Linked DNA regions of Homo sapiens: all the other regions are linked to region 4. Evidence: promoter capture Hi-C in 16 types of primary human blood cells and fetal thymus (Javierre and others, 2016). All regions are on one chromosome and are shown on one strand. The core of a region is centred on a gene start or on the middle of the fragment in contact, and the rest is flanking DNA. Distances in the headings are between cores, read along the strand shown.

Evidence for each region. Contacts are between HindIII fragments. The CHiCAGO score rates a contact against its expected background, and 5 or more counts as called.
Region 1: a contact is called between the fragment with the promoter of CHAMP1 here and the fragment with the promoter of ATP4B in region 4, in 4 of 17 cell types (total CD4 T cells, naive CD8 T cells, naive CD4 T cells and 1 more). The highest score is 7.6, in total CD4 T cells.
Region 2: a contact is called between a fragment that was not itself captured here and the fragment with the promoter of ATP4B in region 4, in 1 of 17 cell types (M1 macrophages). The highest score is 5.0, in M1 macrophages.
Region 3: a contact is called between the fragment with the promoter of CDC16 here and the fragment with the promoter of ATP4B in region 4, in 6 of 17 cell types (M1 macrophages, endothelial precursors, M0 macrophages and 3 more). The highest score is 6.8, in M1 macrophages.

The regions. Positions count from the first base shown.
Region 1 is chr13:114,310,946-114,316,187 of GRCh38, reverse strand. It overlaps CHAMP1 (chromosome alignment maintaining phosphoprotein 1), which reads right to left and starts at 1,685. Exons shown (of 3, transcript NM_032436.4): 1 at 1,545-1,685. RefSeq lists silencers at 1,348-2,027, 2,800-3,094. The HindIII fragment of the contact is 6,923 bases long and covers 1-3,897 here.
Region 2 is chr13:114,201,754-114,206,431 of GRCh38, reverse strand. All of the region lies in intron 3 of CFAP97D2 (CFAP97 domain containing 2), which reads right to left. Among named protein-coding and RNA genes, the nearest start is that of CFAP97D2, 25 kb to the right of the region's middle. The HindIII fragment of the contact is 5,983 bases long and covers 1-4,678 here.
Region 3 is chr13:114,232,036-114,236,898 of GRCh38, reverse strand. It overlaps CDC16 (cell division cycle 16), which reads right to left and starts at 2,002. Exons shown (of 18, transcript NM_001078645.3): 1 at 1,767-2,002; 2 at 200-254; 3 at 3-100. The coding sequence starts at 1,814. RefSeq lists a silencer at 1,684-2,043 and an enhancer at 2,154-2,203. The HindIII fragment of the contact is 7,021 bases long and covers 738-4,863 here.
Region 4 is chr13:113,655,540-113,660,187 of GRCh38, reverse strand. ATP4B (ATPase H+/K+ transporting subunit beta) reads left to right here and starts at 1,990. Exons shown (of 7, transcript NM_000705.4): 1 at 1,990-2,155. The coding sequence starts at 2,044. It also overlaps a transcript of GRK1 not described here. RefSeq lists an enhancer at 2,171-2,671. The HindIII fragment of the contact is 11,349 bases long and covers 1-4,648 here.

The sequences.
Region 1 (5,242 bases), core at 436-2,935, 660 kb before region 4:
CTGGCTCATTAAAAAACAAAAACAAAAATAAAAACAAAAAACTTGCCATTTAGGCCGGACATGGTGGTTCATGCCTGTAATTTCAGCACTTTGGAAGGCCGAGGCGGGTGGATCACCTGAGGTCAGGAGTTCGAAACCAGCCTGACCAACATGGAGAAACCCTATCTCTACTAAAAATACAAAATTAGCCAGGTGTGGTGGCAAGCGCCTGTAATGCCAGCTACTTGGGAGAATGAGGCAAAAGAATCCCTTGAACCCAGGGGGCGGAGGTTGCAGTGAGCCAAGGTCGGGCCATTGCACTCCAGCCTGGGCAACGAGAGCGAAACTCCCGTCTCAAAAAAAAAAAAAAAAACAAAACTTGCCATTTAATCATTTTTAAAAGCACAATTTAGTTAGTTTAGTACTAAAACGTTGTGCAAACATCACCACTATCCACTTCCAGAACTTCTTCACCACAAACAGAAATTCTGTACCCATGAAACAGTAACTTCCACTCTCCACTTTCAGTGCTGGTAATCTCAATTCTGTGCCTGAGGGGGAATCATACAGTATGTCTTTTTTGTGTCTTATTTCACTCAACATAATGTGTTCAATGTGCTCGTTTATACTGTATAATGTGTTCGTTTATATTGCAGCATGTATCAGAATTTCATTCCTTTCTAAAGATGAACAATGGTCCATTCATTATATGTATATACCACAGCTTGCCTTTCATCCACATGTTGATAGACATCTGGATTTTGAATAATGCTGCGATGAACATTTGTGAACAAGTATCTGAGTCTCTGCTGTCAATTTTTGGGGGTATAAACCTAGAACTGAGGAACGACTACCAATTTCCATAGCTGCTGCACCACCCTACTTTCCCACCAGCAATGCACCCGAGCTTCAATTTCTCCACATCCCCAACACTCATAATTTCCCTTTTTTTTAATAGCCACCCTAACAGGTGTGAGGTGGTATCTCATTGTGGTTTTCATCTGCATTTCCTTAATGGTTAGTGATGTTGAGCATCACTGCACGTGCTTATTGGCCATTTGTCTCTCTTCTCTGGAGAAATATCTATTCAAATTCCTTGCCCATTCTTGAACTGGGTTGCTTTTTGTTGGTCAGTTGCATCTCTTCTTGTATTCTAGACATTAACTCTTTATCAGGTTTACAAATGTCCTCTCCCACTTTGGAGGCTGTATAGCGGATTTTTAAACAGTAATAATGACAGAAGAGGAGGCAGTCTAGAACTAAAACAGAAAGAATGGCTTTCGTCTTGTGCCGCCCTCAACTTCCCAATGGTTTCAAACGCAATGTTTCCAGCCTCGGCAGCGACTGACACCGGGCCTCCCCGCTCCCTGCACAAAGACGCACTCCCGCCCCGGCCTGTGGGGGCGGGCCCTTCCCTCGGGCCGTGTGGGAAGCGAGGCAGCGCAGGCCCCCTTCACTCGGACCCGCGGCTTCCCGGGACCGTCCCCGCCAGGTCGGCGGCCGACACGGGGCTCGGGGATGCAGGCCCCAACCACGCCCCTCCCCCGCTCGCTCTCGCTCCTCACCGGTCCGGCCGCGGGCGGCGTCCAGTGGGCGATGGACCGCGCGGAGGGCCCGGCTCGCGGTCGCGGGCGGCTCCGCGAGGCCCTGCAGCGCAGCGGCCTCCCGAATGGCGACTGGATGCAGGAGCCGGGATCCGGGTGCGCGAGCGTGCGCGCTCCCGCGGGACGGGCGGGGGCTGACGGGAAGCAAGTTTGGCGCCGCGCGCCCTCCCGCGCGGGCCAATCAGATCGCCGATCGCGTGGCGCGGCTGTGCCAAAAGTGCGTGGGCAAAACTAGCGGCTCGCGCGGGCCTTCGGAAGGGCTGCGTGCCCGCCCCGCCCCGGAAGTGCCGCACGTGCCCACTCCGCCTCCGCTTCCCGCGCGCGCCCGGGCGCGGCTCCGGGAGGGTTCCGCCGCGTCTGGCCTGTGGCCTCCGGCCAGGCCCTTGGAACGGCCCCGGCCTGCCGCCGCCGTGCGGATATCTCTTCCTTTTCTTGCTGTTTTGATTGTTGTGTGAATGAATTTATTAGGAAAAAAAGAGCTAGACCTGCCCCATACATTCTCAGGGATATTACTGGCATAATACCTATGACAAAAGTACAAGACAAAGTTGTTGGATGACAGTAAATATTCCTTTTCTCATCACCCCGCCTCCACTGAAAGTCCCGATTCCCAGAAGTTATCTTCTTCGTTTTTTGTTTTCAGTTTTATGAATGTTACCACCACAATTCTAATTAAAATGCATGCACCTCTAATGCTGATGCCATCAGTCTGTATGCTTTGAAAGACTGTAAAATTAGCTCACACTGCTCTCTACCTTTGTACCCTTCTGAAGTTTTGCTTGTTGTGAATTTCATTTTTGTTTTTGTGGTGAAAATGAACTATAGAATGGCCGGGCGCGGTGGCTCACGCTTGTAATCCCAGCACTTTGAGAGGCCTAGGCAGGTGAATCATCTGAGGTCAGGAGTTCGAGACCAGCCTGTCCAACCTGGTGAAACCTTGTCTCTGCTAAAAATACAATATTAGCCAGGCGTGGTGGCGGGCGCGTGTAACCCCAGCTACTAGGGAGGCTGAGGCAGGAGAATCCCATAGAACCGGGGAGGCGGAGGTTACAGCGAGATCGCGCCACTGCACTCCAGCCTGGGGGAGAGAGTGAGACTCTGTCTCAAAAAAATAAAAATAAAATCCATAGAATTTACCGTCTTAACTATCTTTACGTGTACAGCTCAGTGGTGGTAAGTATATTCATAACACCACCATCCATCTCTGTACCTCTTTCATCTTGAAAAACAAACTATGCATTACATGTTAACTCTCGGTTCCCCTCTACCTTCTACTTTCTGGCAGTCACCATCTTACTTCCTGTGTCTCTGAGTCTGACTACTCATAAGAGTGGAATCATACAGTATTTGTCTTGTGACTGACTTATTTTACTTAGCAGAACATCCTCAAGGTTCATCCATGTTGTAGCACATTGTGGAATTTCCTTCCTTTTTAACACTGAATACTATCCCATTGTATGGATATGCCACATTTTGCTTATCCACTCACCTGTTGATGGACACTTGGCTTGCTTCCCTATTCAAGATATTGTGAATAATGCTTTGACATTTTCAAAGAACCAATTTTTGGTTTCATTGATTTTCTCTATCGTTTTCTATTTTCTATTTCATTTATCTTGGCTTTAATCTTTATTATTTCCTTCTTTTTGCCAGCTTTGGATTTAGTTTTTCTTTTTATAGTTCATTAAGTTGTAAAGTTAGGTTGTTAATTTGAGATTTTCTTGGTTTTTGATGTATTTATAGCTATAAACTCCCCCTTTAGCATTGCTTTTGCTGTATCACAAAAGTTGCTATATTGTGTTTACATTTTTTTCTTTTCTTTTCTTTTCTTTTTTTTTTTTTTTTTTTTTTGAGACAGAGTCTCGCTCTGTCGCCCAGGCTAGAGTGCAGTGGCGCCATCTCGGCTTACTGCAAGCTCCGCCTCCCGGGTTCATGCCATTCTCCTGCCTCAGTCTCCCGAGTAGCTGGGACTACAGGCTCCCGCCACCACGCCCGGCTAATTTTTTTGTATTTTTTTAGTAGAGACGGGGTTTCACCGTGTTAGCCAGGATGGTCTCGATCTCCTGACCTCGTGATCCGCCCGTCTCAGCCTCCCAAAGTGCTGGGATTACAGGCGTGAGCCACAGCGCCTGGCTCTACCTCCCTTTCATGCAAAATTTAGGATCCTGTGTTAATTTCCGGAATGATTCTGATTTCTAGGATTCAAATATCAATATTAAATATTTTAGGATTTTTCTAAGTTTTGTTTTTGCAGCAAAATTGATTCATTAAATTTAATAGATTTCTTTAAAAAGTATCCACCTAGTTACAAGCTTTTAAAAGAGCCAATGAAAACAGTTTGTAAACTGTAAATGTTAAATGCAGAAATGAGAGGATCTTTTATTTTCTCTGAATAGCAAAGATTTACTGATTGAGAACTTTTTGAGATCCTGACTCTTAATATGAAACAGGTTCGTTGTGGCTGCAGGACCTAATTTGAATGGCTGCTTCAGTTGTTTTTTCCTGAAGTGTCAGAATGAGTTGATGATCCCAAGAGACCTATTCCAATTGAACACTGAACAAAACTCTAGCAGAAGGCAACTCTTGGTGACGAAATAACAAAAACCAAAACACCCTCTGCTATTATTCTGAATTGAAATCATGTTAAAAAAGCTATTGTAGTTATAGAATATTAAATAGTTCAAGATGAATAATGCAAATAAACTCCCAATTTGGCCTTTTGAAAGGTTCCCAGTATATTGCACTAAACTTTAAAGTAACCAAAGAAAGCAGAAATAACTCTCATAAAATCCTGTACTAAAACCAGACCCTTATGGACTTTCAAAATTTCACTTAAGGATCTATTGAACATATACTTCTCAACAGTTTATTTTGATGTTTTCTCAACCTATACTATGTTCCAGGGACCAGACTTGAATCAGGGAATGGGTAGAGGCAGGTGAACTACAATTGCAGTAGAAAGTGGCAGCCTGACAGCCTTTGAGGAGCTGCAAACTCATTAGCTGAGATGGCACTGGACTTTGTCATTTGTCTTCTGTGTATAAAGAATAACAGTGCTGAGTATCTGCACATATTCAAAACCTACACAGAATCATGTTGTCAAATGAAGCAGCCAAAATCAGACTGGCTTTCTGTCAGAAAGTCAGACTTAATTTTTCCATTCAAATTGCTGCATTAATATGTATTACAAGGAACATAATAAAAATTAGAAATAAATTATTAAGTGCTTCCTGTAAGAGAAATAATAAAAGCAGTCCAGCTTATAATTTAGATCTAATATAATCAACTTAGCTACTTTATAATAAAAAAGGACAAATTATTCTGCTATTTCTACTTAATTTATAATAATGCAAAATAATGGGAACTAAAATAAGTTACTTAATGGGAAGTATGATAAAATGGAATTCCTCCTGAGTATCTAGCTCTGTTGCTGGGCTTTGGGGAATGTCAAAGTATAGTTCTCAAAAGTTAAACACATGACTCACACGAATATAAAGTGAACACATATCAGAGGATTTATTTTATTTTGTATTTTTTTTTGAGACGGAGTCTTGCTCTGTCGGCAGGCTGGAGTGCAGTGGTGCGATCTCTACTCACTGCAACCTCCACCTCCCGGGTTCAAGTGATTCTCCTGCCTCAGCCTCATGAGTAGCTGGGAC
Region 2 (4,678 bases), core at 846-3,345, 550 kb before region 4:
GAAGAAACATTTATTTAAAAAAAGCTACTGGCCAGGAGCGGTGGCTCACGCCTGTAATCCCAGCACTTTGGGAGGCTGAGGTGGGCAGATCATCTGAGGTCAAGAGTTCAAGACCAGCCTGGCCAACATGGCGAAACCCTGTCTCTACTAAAGATACAAAAATTAGCCAGGTGTGGTGGCACGCGCCTGTAATCCCAGCTACTCGGGAGGCTGAGGCAGGAGAATCACTTGAACTGGGAGGTGGAGGTTGCAGTGAGCCGAGATTGTGCCACTGCACTCCAGCCTGGGCAACAAAGCAAGACTTTGTCTCAAAAAAAAAAAAAAAAAGGAAAAGAAAAAAAGCTACTGTAATTTGGCAAATGTCTCTGGCATTTGAGCTGAAACCTGCTCTTTCCCTGCTGTTCCCAGCTCGGCAATGCAGACTGCACTCCAGAGGCTGCAGCCAGGCACACAGGCTCTACTCCCCATAGCTTCTAGTCGAAGGGCCTCCTTCCTGGAAGAGGCAGGGCCTCAGCTTTTCTCCTCTTGTCCTCAACTGCCTGTTGCTGAGACTAAGTCCCAGGTGAGTGTGGCATTGTTCTGCCCAGCCCCTGTTTATGGAATGGAGGATCAGCCTAGAGCCTTGGAAATTGTGCTTCTAAGAATACAGGAGCCCGGATCCCCTTGGGCTGGTTCACAGGCATTGGTTCCAAGATGGGAGAGGCAAGCCCAGAAGACCTGTGTGTCCCCACAACATACACACAATGAAGCAAAGAGCCTGGGGTGTCACTCAGAGAGAAGATTGCCATTGTCTCCACTCCCAGCTCTTCCCAAAGGGACGAGCTGTTCTAAATGCTGTTTCACTTGCAACAGAATTTAGAGAAGTTCAACCCTCACTGAACATGAAAATAAAAGACATCCAAATTGGGAAAGAAGAAGCAAACTATTTCTATTCACAGATGATATGATCTTGCATATAGAAAATCTTAAGGAATGCACTAAAAAGCTGTAGAACTAATCCACAAGTTCAACAAGGTTGCAGAATATAAGATCAATACACAAAAATCAATTGTATATGTTTTCGTGTAGACATGTTTTCATTTCTCTTGGTTATATACTTGGGAGTGAAATTGGTTATATGGTAAATATATTTAATCCCCATATATTTATTAAAATATGTTTAATCACTTGAGGAACTTCTGGACTGTTTTCCCAAGTGGCTGCACCATTCCTCCCAGCCCTGGAGGGTTCCAATTTCCCCACATGGTCACCAACACTCCTTCTTATCTGTCATTTTGATTCCAGTCAATCTGATAGGCGTGAAGTGCTATCACGTTGTGGTTTCGATTTGCATTTCCTTGATGATGAATGATGCTAAGTATCTTTTCATGTGCTTATTAATCATCTGTATGTCTTCCTTGGAGAAATGTCTATTCAGATCTTCTGCCCATCTTTTAATGAGGTCATTGTCTTTATCACTGAACTGTGAGAGGTCTTCATGTATTCTAGATGCAAGTCCCTAATCGTATCTGATTTGCAAATATTTTCTCCCATTCTGTGGGTTTTTTTTACTTTCTTGATAGTGTCCTTTGATGCACAAAAGTTGTTAATTTTCATTAAGTCCAGTTTATGTATCTTCTTGTTTGTCATTCCTGCTTTTGGTGCCATATCTTAGACTCCATTGCCAAATCTGAAGTCACGATGATTTCCCACTGTTTTCTTCTAAGAGTTTTATGGTTTTAGTTCTTACATTTAGGCCTTTGATCCGTTTTTGATTAATTCTTCTATATGGTGTGAGGTGAGAGTCCAACTTCATTCTTTTGCATGTGGCGATAGAGTTGTCTCAGCATTTGTGGAAAGACTATTCTTTCCTCACTGAATGGTCTTGGCCCCTTTGTTGAAAATACATTGATTATAGACACATGGACTCCCATTGATTTATATGTCTATCTTAATGCCAGTGTAATACTATCTTGATTACTATAGCTTTCTTAGTAAGTTTGAAATAGGTGTGGAGTCCTAATTAGGAAAGAGGAGTCAAGCTGGTGGGACCAAGGGAAAGCAAAGAGATAAAGCAGGTAAGCGACAAGTCTGCCTTTCTTCATGGTCCAGAACACGCAGCCCTCCTGCGCAAACAGCTCACAATTTTCCTGTGCCGAGCTATTACCAGACACCTGCAAGTTAGCTCACTGTAGCTTTGGTGTTATTGGTACTGCACAAAGCCCTCTTCAGCATAAATGCCACCCTATAAAATCCCCAGCAAGCCTTGGTCTCCTCATAGTCAGCCTCTCTCCTGTGGGCTGCCCGCTGCCTCCTCGAAATGTATTTTCCTACTTTCTCTCATAAATCTGCCTTTCTTTACCTACAACTGTCTTGGTAAATTCATTACCCCCATGCCACTGGCTGAGATAGCCATTGCTCCCCAGCAACAATAAGGACACATGAGTCCTACTACTTTGATCTTCTTTTTCAGGATTGTTTTGACTAAAACAATCCATCAAATTTTAGAACCAGTGGGTCAATTTCTACAGAGAAGTTGGCTGGAGTTCTAATTGGGATTGTATTGAATTTGTAGATTGGGTTTGAGACAGCCAAATGCCCAGAATCTCTGCCCCATCTGACAAGTGTTTACACCAGATGCTTTTGTGCAGATGAGGGAACCTGCCCAGGGCCTTGTCTGCACATGCCCACATGCGCACTGGGGAAACGGGTGAAGCCACGGGCAGGGGAGGAGCCTGGCCTCTTCAGTTCCTGTGTGGTGGCCTGGGATTCCATTTGTGAGGTGGGAGCCTGTTAGCAGGACTCCATCTCACTTTGCTGAGTTTTCTTTTTCTTTTCTTTTTTTCCCTTGTCACCCAAGAAAATCCTGCTCTACTCACCCTTCAATGTGTTCGTGTGCCTAGATTTTCCTGGTCATGTGACAAGTACCCAGTTTCAGCTGAACTAAGGAGCAAAATTCTGCAATAGTTTGTATATTGCCATCTTAATATAGCAAGACTTCTGAATCCATACACGTGGGATATTTTTCCATTTATTTAGATCTTCAATTTTTGTGGATGACGGTTTGTAGTTTTTGGAGTATAAATTTTGTACTTCCTTTGTTTATTCCTAAGTACCTATTCTTTTGATACTTTTGAGTATGGAATTGTTTTCTTAGTTTCCTCTTCAGATTGCTCATTGCAAGTATATAAAAACACAATTGATTTTTGTGTATTGATCTTGTATTCTGCAACCTTGTTGAACTTGTGGATTAGTTCTACAGCTTTTTAGTGCATTCCTTAAGATTTTCTATATGCAAGATCATATCATCTGTGAATAGAAATAGTTTGCTTCTTCCTTCCCAATTTCGATGTCTTTTATTTTCATGTCCAGTGAGGCTTGCACTTTTCTAAATTCTGTTGCAAATTAAACCATCCCTTTGGGAAGAGAATGGGAGCTGTTACGAGGGTCTGCTTCTTCCTCTGGGCAAAATCTCAGAGCCCTGGAGCTCGGAGTGGGAACAATGGCGATCTTCTCTCTGAGTGACACCCCAGGCTCTGTGCTCCACTGTGTGTGTGTGTTGGAGGGACACACAGGTCTTCTCGGCGTGACTCTCCCAGCATGGAACCAATGCCTATGAACCAGACCAAGGGGATCTTGGCTCCTGTAGTCTTAGGATCACCATTCCCAAGGCTGCAGGCTAAGCATCCACTCCACAAACAGGAAATGGGCAGAACAAGAGCATCTCCAGCGTGGGGCCACACTCACCTGGGATTTAGTCTCAGCAACAGGCAACTGCAGACAAGATGAGAAAAGTAAGGCCCTGCCCCTTCCAGGAAGAAGGCCCTTCGACTAGGAGCTGTGGGGAGCAGAGCCCATGCACTTGGCTGCAGCTTCTGGTGTGCATCTGCATTGCTGAGCTGGAAGCAGTGGGGAGACAGCAGGTTTTAGCTCATATACCAGGGACATTTGCTGTTCTTGTCAAATTACAGTAGCTTTTCTTGAATATATGTTTCTTCTTAGGACCATACAGCAGAGACTCTAAATGACTGTGTTTTAACCATTTTCAAAAGTTTTGCTGGGGAGTGGGTTGAGAGAGCTCCTCATGCGGTCATTCTGGGGGTCTCTCATGTGGATCCCACTTGAAATCCATTTGTCATTGAGTTTTCAGTCTTGGGCAGAGGTATTCATCTCTGAATTTCTTTTTACATAAACTCTGATTGCAGCCTTATTTGTAATAGCCCAAAACTGGAAACCACCCAAATGCTCATCAACAGGTGAATGGATAAACACATTGTGATAGATCCGTACGATGGAACACTACTCAACGTTATGCTAACTGAAAGGCAGACAAAACGCAGATACTTGATGAACCTATACACATAAAATCCAGAAAGTGCAAAGGCACCCATAGGGAACCTTCGATGGGCAGAGGGTGGTGGGTAGGGGGACCGAAAGGCTCAGGGAAACCTGGGGAGTGATGAATATGTTTACTGTCTTGACTGGGGTGCTGGTGTCATGGGTGTATCATATGACAAACCTATCACATACACTTTGAATATGTGTTTACTGTATGCCAATCACATCTGAATAAAGACATGAAAAATGAAATCAGGAGTGAAAGTCCAATTGTTGGCTCTATAGTTTCTCTCATGTTGATTTGTGCTACTGGCTGACCAGCTAGCTAGATATGTTTATTCCATCAACCAACTGGTCTGCA
Region 3 (4,863 bases), core at 753-3,252, 580 kb before region 4:
ACTTTGTCCAGTTTTCGTGACCGAAGTGCATGGGCGGCTCTGTGATATTGTGCTGTCAGGTAAAGACACTGAGCCAACCAATAGATGTCCTGGGGTTCTTCTGGAGGGAAAAATTCACATAAGTGGTCAGAGGTACAAGGTGAAATAGAAAACGAATTTTAAGATTAATCAGAAAACCAGTTAGCATTTTGTCACTTACCACGAGAGAGTGAAGCTACTTTATCTGCCCAAAATAGAGCACTTTGATACTGTTGCTGCATACCAAAAAAAAAAAAAGGTGGTAACTGCCCTGTTATTTTAATAGTCTTAAACAGTTATCTAATATTATTATAATTCTATGTAATATATTAATATAATTCTATGTAATAAATCTTCATCTCAAGACAACAATTTGTTACATCTCTATCTTACATCTCACGTAGGGTAAATTTTAGTTCAGTGTCGCAATACAAACATTCCTGTAATATCTTTGTATATGCAACTTATGAAGGTAATTTTTTAAAACTCATACACTGTAAAAATGTATCGTGAAACATACAAGTGAAATGCAAGTGAAACAGCAAAAGCTAGTCATTAACAATTCATGTGTGATTTATATAACACTTTCAACGAGCTGTTAATGAATCCCAAAGTGAAATTTAGAAGACAGAACACTATACTCAAATACCTTATATAACACAGTGGCAGTTTTAATAACACTCAAGTTTAAAAACACACACACATAAATTAACTAAGCTTCACTGAACATGGGGAAGAACTCACCTCCTCCAAGTCTAACAAAAATGAAGGAGCCGACAATGAGGGCCACCCACAGTGACCTACGGCTAGCTTTAGACCCTGTTCTGCTCCTCAGTCCTCAGTCTTCTACAGTCTCTGCCTCAGTTCCCCTGGAGACAAGCCAGGACCACTGCTGCTAGCCCGAGGCAGGAGGAATGCCAACGGGATAGTTATAAATATGCTCAATACCGGTGTCTCTGGCTGGAAACCGGGCCTGTCATATTCCTCACTACGTCTCCGTACCGAAGAAAAAGTGATCAGAAAACACTGAATTCAACTGACTCATGGTAAATAAAAACACAGCCCTCCAAATGGACTGCAAACATTTGGCCACGTCAGTTAGCACCCAATTCCGAAAACTCTGCATTACCATGGCTTTTCTTTCCCTTTCTTTCCAATTTCCTGAAAGAGCAAGCATTTCAACAAAAAATAAACAACAATATAGATAAAACTGATGCTGCTGATTCTCGAAGACACTTCTTGCCTTAAACGCTCTCTGCTATTCAAAGGTAGTGCAGAGAACACAGACATAGTTAACGAGAATTTTTAAAGTATTGATTTGAGACAACAGGCTTCTTCACATCTTTATTCACTTAAATTCAGCCCAGTAAAAATTACAACTAAACCTCTCAAAAATGTTTTATTAGCTAGCCCTGCAACTTTCCTCCAAAAATTGTCCTTCAACTTGCACTGAGTAGTCAGTGTTTCCTGGGCACCTCCTCCGCGCCAGGTGCAGAACGAGGCTCAGACCCGACTGAGGCGCCCCGTGCGCTCGGGGGCCTCCACTCCCCGGGCTGTGCCCCTCCCAGCTGCAGGGACCGCTCCCTTCTGGGCGAGGCGGAGACAGCGCTGCTGGCCCCAGATGAAGGCCCAGGGCCGGCCCAGTCCTTCCCCACCAAGAGCCCCGACAACAGTCACCCCAGCCCCACGCCGCGCGGAAAAAGACCCGGCGAGGCCTGGGCCCCGCACCCCGAGTCGGGGCCGCCCACCTGGTCGAGGTACTGCCGGACGCGCTTCCGCAGCCGCTCTAGGTTCATGGCGGCGCGGGCCCGGCCTCACGCCACACTCCGCCGCTAGGCGCGCGCCTCCTGCACCCTAAGCACCCCGCCCCGTGCCCGTGCCCGTGCCTGCAGCCGCCGCCGCCGCCCCAGGACTCGAAGGCCGCGGACTCGAAGGCCGCAGGTCCCCACCCACACCCGCACCCCCCACCCAGGCCCCGTGCACTGCCCAGGCTCTTCCGCTCCAGGCAGGCCCCGCCCCGGAAGTCCACAGCAAACGAATCCCATCTGGCGCGGGAAAACGGACCCGAGTTGTTGGTTCCGATGCCTCTCCTGGCACGTGGGCTTCTGGTTGCCTTGGGGCGAGAGCGCGGCCTCCCTGGAATCGCTGCGGCGCCTCTGGGCATTGGCGAGAGAGTCAGGAGGGCTCGGGGCCGGACCACCCACCCGGGCAAAAAAGCAGGTGGCTGCTGAGCCTTCTTTCCCCAGAATGTAGTCAACATTTTAAAAATAAGAGCAACGCACTCTCATTACAAAAAAAAAAAATTGTGTGCACAAACAGCAAATGAAGTCAAAGACAACCTAGGGAAAAATTTGAAACCTATCACAAAATTCGAATTTCCTTATAATGTAGAGCCAATATTCCCTTTACATATATGTAATAAGTCAGTGGGAAGAGACCAATGGCTCAGGAGAAAGACAGGCAAAAAACAGTTCACAGGGAAAGAAATGCAAATAGACTTTAACATACGAAAGAAAGTCCAACTTAATTCATAATAAAAATTAAAATTAGAGTACCACTTTTCATATGTTAACAAAGATCACAAAGGTTGATGACACTGCTAGCAGGAATGTCGGGAAGCAGGCACCCTCAAGTTTTGTGAGTGGTATTGGTATACTCTCTAGGATGAACGAATTGGAATATCTTCCAAATTTAAAGGTGTTCGTGCTGTTAAACCTAATGATTTTTATTTTGGGAAATATACCATGGATTTGCATTTTTGCATGTGTGCAAAATGACCTGTGGTTTCGTTTGTAATAGCAAAAGATTGCAGACAATTTAAACACCCATGAAGTATGGAACTGAGTAAATAGGTCATGATACGCTCACGTAATGGAATACTCGCTGGCTGTTCAAAAGAACAGTCAGCTTTGCATGGACATTGAACGATCTTCAAGATATAGTATGTGGGAAAAAGCAAGTATAGGATCGTGTTTATCGTATGCCTGCATTTGAGTAAAATACGAATTTAATGATAGGTAGAAAAATCCCTAAACTGTCCCAGGAAGGAAAAATGAGAAAACCGGCATAGCGCAAGGCCTCTGGAAGGAGTGCTGGAAGATGAGAGATGGTAGAAGTGGGAGAGGTACTTCCTTGGATATCTTTTTGTGCTTTTGAATTTCAGTCAATGTGCATATATTACCTTTTGTGAAATTAAATCATTCAAACTTAAAATAATTTAAACTTGAAGCTGTTGGAACTTTGAATTACCTGAGCCTTGAGGGGAATGTGGCTACGCGGCCTAGGTCATGCCACACCCAGCTGTAACTTCTGCCTTTTTCCCTGTAAACAATAAAGACCAAATGGCACCGGAGATAAGACCCCCTCAGATCACTACCCCTCCTCATGGAGTTATAACGCAATCTTCCTTCAAATACAGAGATCCCTAACCAATGGAACCGCTGCGGCGTGTGCCCCTGGTCTCATATGAGAACTGTGGTGATCCTGCTGGAGCTTCTGTCTCCGCCTGGTAAGAGAGACCTGAGCTCCACTTGGAAAGGCTGACCCCATTTGTCCAGGTGGCCATTCTCAGGCTCTGTGCTCAAATACACACTATATGTAATCATATTTCTGAATCTCAATATTAAGGTTGACACTTTTAAAAAGTAAATATAACTTTTATAAATATAAAAACCTAAAAGAGTAAAAAAAATTCAAAGAAGCAAAAAAAAAAAAACTTGCTGTAAAGAATCCCACCCACTCAAAAATTCTCTCACGCTACTGTAAGTAATCTGCCGTGTAATTTTCTATGTGTGTGTATACATATATGACTGGGTAATATTTTGAAGTTGTGTTTAAAAATTTGTCCCCCTGTATATTTCCTTTTCCTCCTCCTTTCCCACTTCTGCAAGCAGGCAGTAATCAACTCTGCTCATTAACTTGGGGCAGGCATGTGGTGAGGTGTGTTTTAAGCCATATTTTCAACGACTTCTATCCATTTAATGAGATTCCTAGTTAACCAAAAATGAGTGACTGAGGCAAATGTCTCCATCAGTAGAAGTCTGATGATGGGCCCGGGAAAAACGCAAGCCACAGAAGCATCAACTGTGCCATCCAAATAGGGTTATGGGGACTGGGTGTTTAGGAGGAGACGGCAAGCAGGAGGAAAAAAAGGGAGGGGTCCACAGTGATGCTCTGATTAGTGCTCAGTAAACCAACAATTTACATAAGATGAGGCAAACATCTGACAAGAGGGAGTAGAGGAAAGAGTTATGTAGCCCATATCAGGGTAGGCAGAAGAGTGACTAATCTCATCTTGTCCTTGTTTTGTACCTGGAAGGTAAATTTGTAATTAATATTGCCAGGGCGAGATTTAACAGAAATCACTTTCAGGAGTCCTCTGCCAGATACCCTAACTCATCACTCTCAAGTTCAAAGTTCCAGAGATCCCTAGAGCAGGGGCACAATGCTGCCAGGTTCTTTGCTAATGCACAGCAAAAGTGACCTTTGCTTCAGTTCCTAGTAAGTTTCTCATCTCTATCTGAGACCTTATCAGCCTGCCCATCTCTCCATATCACTATCAGCATTTGGGTCACAACAATTTAAAAGTCTCTAGGAAGTTCCAAATTTTCCCCCATCTTCTTGTCTTCTTCTGAGCCCCCCACATTTTTCCAACCTCTGCCCATTACCCAGTTCCAAAGTTATTTCCGCATTTTCAGGTATCTTCATACGAATGCCCCACTTTTCAGTACCAATTTTCTGTATTAGCCTGTTCTCACATTCCTGTAAAGAAACACCTGAGGCCAGGCCCGGTGGCTCATTCCTTTAATCCCAGCACTTTGGGAGTCCGAGGCAGCTGGATCATGT
Region 4 (4,648 bases), core at 741-3,240:
CTGGGCCCCCCTCATTGTCTGGCACCCAATTTGTATAGAGCACCTAGTTCTATGTTTTCAGAGCATGCTGTGGGGAAACTGCCCTCTACCAAGGTCTCTGGCCCTCCTCCCCACACGTATGTGTCCAGAAGAAGGTCATTCTGATAACATGTGTACAGCTCAGCACATGTACCTGCTTCTGGAAATTCAGAGACTACATTAGGAAGACTAAATTCAAAGATGTTTAGAAATAATTCATACTTTGTTCATTTCAAGAGCATCTATACCCTTCACAGACAACAGTTGCTGCATCCAGGTGTTGTCAGACCCCTGGCACTCTGGGGTCCCAGGGCCACAGTCTGTGAACAATCAGACTGTGGCCTTTACTGCCAGACCCTGTGTTCTTATCGCCCTAACATTCCAAAGTCAGAAATGGGTACAATGTTAAAGGAAGGATAGGTCCATTAAGAAATTATGGCTGGGCGCAGGGGCTCACGCTTGTAATCCTAACACTTTGGGAGGCCGAGGTGGGAGGATCCCTTGAACTCAGGAGTTCTAAACCAGTCTGGGCAACATAGGGAGACCCCATCTCTACAAAAAAATAAAAGAAATAAAAATTAGAAATTAAAAAAAAGAAAAGAAATGATAGGAATCCAGGCTAAAATGACATCATTCCATTTGAATTTTAGGGCAATTATTTTGCAAACTCTAAATTATCCTAAAAAATTAAAGCAGCGTAATGCCTAGAGGAATTTTGTTTCTTCTAAGAAATGAATTTGGTTACACGGGTCCCTGAGAGGGACGGCCTAGAGTTGACAGTATGGGAAACTCTGCATGTAATTCTGGACACACAGGGCTAGTCGACTTCGAATCATATTTGTCAGAAGGCCCCTGAGCACATTTCATTTGCCCTGCATTCCCATCAACCTCCTGCAGAGATGGGCACTGCAGCCAGCAGGCAGCAATGGCATCTGCCATCCAGGACCCCTGTCTCCAACAGCAAAGCGTCTGAGCCGGGGTTCTGAAGTGCGCCGCCCAACAAGACTGCCTGGGAGCCCTCCACGTCCTGGTGCTCGGACCCATGGGCGAGAGGCTCAGGCAGAATCTCCGGGCGGAAGTGGGCAGTGATGACTTCATGGTCCCTGCCCCGGCCCTGTGACCCCAGTGCACTGCCCGGACCCCCGGTGACCCCGAGGTACTGCCCAGGCTGAGCATCCCCCACCTGGACCCTGCCTTACTCCCTCCCACCAGCACTGTTAGAAATGCAGTCTGGGGCCCCCACAGGACTCGCTGGGCTGAATCTGCATTCAACAGATGCTCAGGGCTCCTGTGCACTTCATTTTGAGGACCACTAGATTTAGGGGTTTGTGTTTATGAATTCCTCCATGGACACAAAAAAATCCTAAAGGGCCCTCGGTGCCACTGCCCTCTGGGGATCTAAGAGGCTATTGCTGCTCTGGGTGAATCTGGGAGGCAGAGGAGTCCCCGGGGACCCCTGTGTTCCCTGCCAACCCAGCTCCAGCTGCCAGGCTCACCCTTCCACTGGGTGACCCAGAATCGGGGCGGCCGCAGCGGGGGGCCCAGGGAGCCGGTCGCCCCTCACTCGCCTGCCTCACGCCCTCCCAGGCCAGGGATGCGGCCCCAGCTGGCTCAGCCCAAGGTCGTGGACACAGTGGGTCCAGGCCGGCTCTGCTCTGACCTCAATCTCCCTCCTGAAGGAGAGGAGGGAAGGGGAAGGGCCTGTGAGTGCTGCTCACCCCGGAACGTGCCCTCACCGCAATCAGAGCAGACAAAGCTGCAGCCAAGGGCGTCCCAAGAGCAGCAGGGTGAGGAAAGCGGGCCTGGCCCGCCCCAGGGGCAACAGCCGGGCTGCACCCAGCCCCTGGTGTTTGGTGAGGCGATGGCCGGCGCTGATAAACGGCCCTGGCCTCTCCCTGGGATCCTTCGCCTGCGATGCCTTTGACCTCTGGCAGAGGAAACTATAAAGCCCAGAGGTGGGCATCTGGCCTCAGTCTGGGCGTAGAGGGTGCAGGGAGCAGACGGGAGGATCTCAGGCCAGGGACGATGGCGGCTCTGCAGGAGAAGAAGACGTGTGGCCAGCGCATGGAGGAGTTCCAGCGTTACTGCTGGAACCCGGACACGGGGCAGATGCTGGGCCGCACCCTGTCCCGGTGGGGTACGTGCGGGGGGCGGGCCGGCTGGGTGCATGGAGGGGGCCGCTCTGAGGACGCAGCCTCCAGGTGAGCTCAGGAGGAGGGGAGCAGAGGGCCCCTGACAGTGAGACCCCGATGCTGCCTGGATGGCGTGGACGGGCTTCGGCCAGGGCCTCACTTGCCTCCCAGGGAAAGCGAGGGTCCCCAGAGCATCCTGAAGGCTGAGTTGACCTGGAGCCCCAGCTGCAGAACGCCGGTGGAGGGCGTCCACAGACTGGCCCCAAATGTCAGCCGTATGTCTGAGAACAGCATTTTAAAAGTATGTTTCTAAAGTGAATCATTTTGAAAATAACGTGAAAGGTGGCAACGGTGATTCCTTGGTCACACAGATTCACGCAATGACCTGAATAAGGGGCTCTGCCGAGACGCGGCTGCCAGCCCCTTTCCGGGACACCCGCTGGCGTCCAGATGCGGAGGTGGGGAGTAAACCAGGCCTGCCTCAGCCTGCAGCACCTGCGCCTTGTGCGAGGTCTGCCCTGCAGGGTCCTGTCCCCGTGGCTGCACAGAGGCGCGGGCAGCCTGGCCCTCCTGGGAGGAAAGCAGATGCCTGGGCCTCCAAGGCCACACAGGTGGTGGAAGCGTCTGCGTCTACATCAGGGCTGCCACACCCGTTCCGGGAAACGCCCTCACCCCTTATGAGAGAGTCTGGAGGAAGCACCTGTGCGCCCCCACCTCCCCCTGCGACCCCTGGGCGTCGGGATGCGGCTGAACTGGCTGGCCTGGTGCCGTCCCCGGCTCCCAGGGAAGGTCAGGCCCTCCTCAATTCCCACGGTGCCCGGCTCTGGGGGTCCCAGAGCCGAGGTGGGAATGCAAAGCCCCAGGCCCGCCCCACCTGTGTGTGTAGCTGAGACGTGCTGGGAATGCCCGTGACACGCTGCCAAATCCCCCACACTCACCACAGTGCTGGTGAAGGCTGCAGCCCCCGCTGGAGGCTCCACGGTCTCAAAGGGCACCAGAGCCAGCTGGAGTCATGGGCGCATTTGAAGTAGAACAAATACCCCGTTCCTAGAGAGGCAGGGACCGGGGGCAGAAGGGCCTCCTGGGCCAGGCGGGGCGGCAGAGCGGGAGGCCAGGATGGGGAAGGAGCTGAGGGCGGGGGCTGGGCTGGGGGCTGCCGGCCAGGTCCTTGGAAGCCCCATCTTTTGGGCCATTCTAGATGCTGAGACTCCCATGTGCCGCCTCCTGGCTGCAGGGCCACAGAGAACCTTCTGGAATGGTCTCACTGCCTGGCCGGTAGACATGGCCTCCGTTTGGGATAAGAAAGTCTTAGGGCCCCAGGAAAACACAACTCAAGTGAAATGACAAAAACAAAAGGAATAGGACACGTTATTCTTACTAATTGGGGGACGGGTGCAGGTGCAGGAGAGGCAGAGTGAGCTGCACCCGGCCGGCCCCAGGAGCTGGCGGGAATGGGACTCTCAGTCACCTCCCAACCCCTCCCCTGTGCACTGCAGCGTGCCCTGAACACCGTGGTGCAAGCGGGGGCCCAGGAAGTGCAGGGAGCATGGCCCTCCCGAGCCTGGGCCCAGCCTGGCCAACCTCGGGCTCCTACCCGGGAGGCAGGGCTGAGCCGCCTGGTGGAGCTGAGACTCGCCACAGAGTGGGTCAGCAGCCACTGGGGAGACACGCACCGCCCACATCTCCACTGTGCACCACGGGCCCCAGAGCAGACCCACAGGACCCACAGCGGGGGAACAGAGACCCCTGCCGTCACGAGCGTAGGTCCCCGGGGGACAGGCGGCCAAGTCAAATAGAAGCCACATCAGGAGTGACCTGGGGACACTGAGGCAGGACCTGCAGGGCCAGCACCAGGGAGGCACCAGGCGTGATCCAGTGACAGGACAGAAACCCTCCACCACTGCGGGCCCCACACTGCTGAAGCTGGAAACTCAAAACCGGAGGCTGAAGCCAAGCTGCTGTGGCCACACAAGAACGCCGTCACCAGGGACGCCCGGCGGGGAAAGGAGGGACTCAAAGTGGATGCCAGGTGAGCAAGACCCAGCCCTGAGCCCAGCTGGTGCTGAAGGGACCTGGCTCAGAGATCTGTGCTGTCCCAGCTCACAGAAGAGGGCAGGCAGTCCACAGGCCACAGCCTCTCATCACAGCTCAGGGCTCTGGCCTCTTGGCCCTGCACTCCCTTGCTTCTCTGACTTGGTCCTGCCCTTTGGTTGTGTTTTGGGTCACTGGAGAACGGCTCACTAAGCAGAATCCATGCCACATCAGCGGAGAGGAGGAGCAGGAGGCCCAGTTCATTACAGACTTTCCAGAAAGACAAAAGCCGTAGCAAACACAAAACCGTCCTCTTCCTGCCGGTGTCTCCCTGCAAATGCCTCCTGCGATCCACACAAGCTAATTTACAGAGACGAAGACAGCACACAGGCAGTCGCCTGTGTCCAGGAGCCGCCCATGGCCACGGGGACGGTGGCTTCCGTTAGGTTCTGACGCTGCAGGGGAAG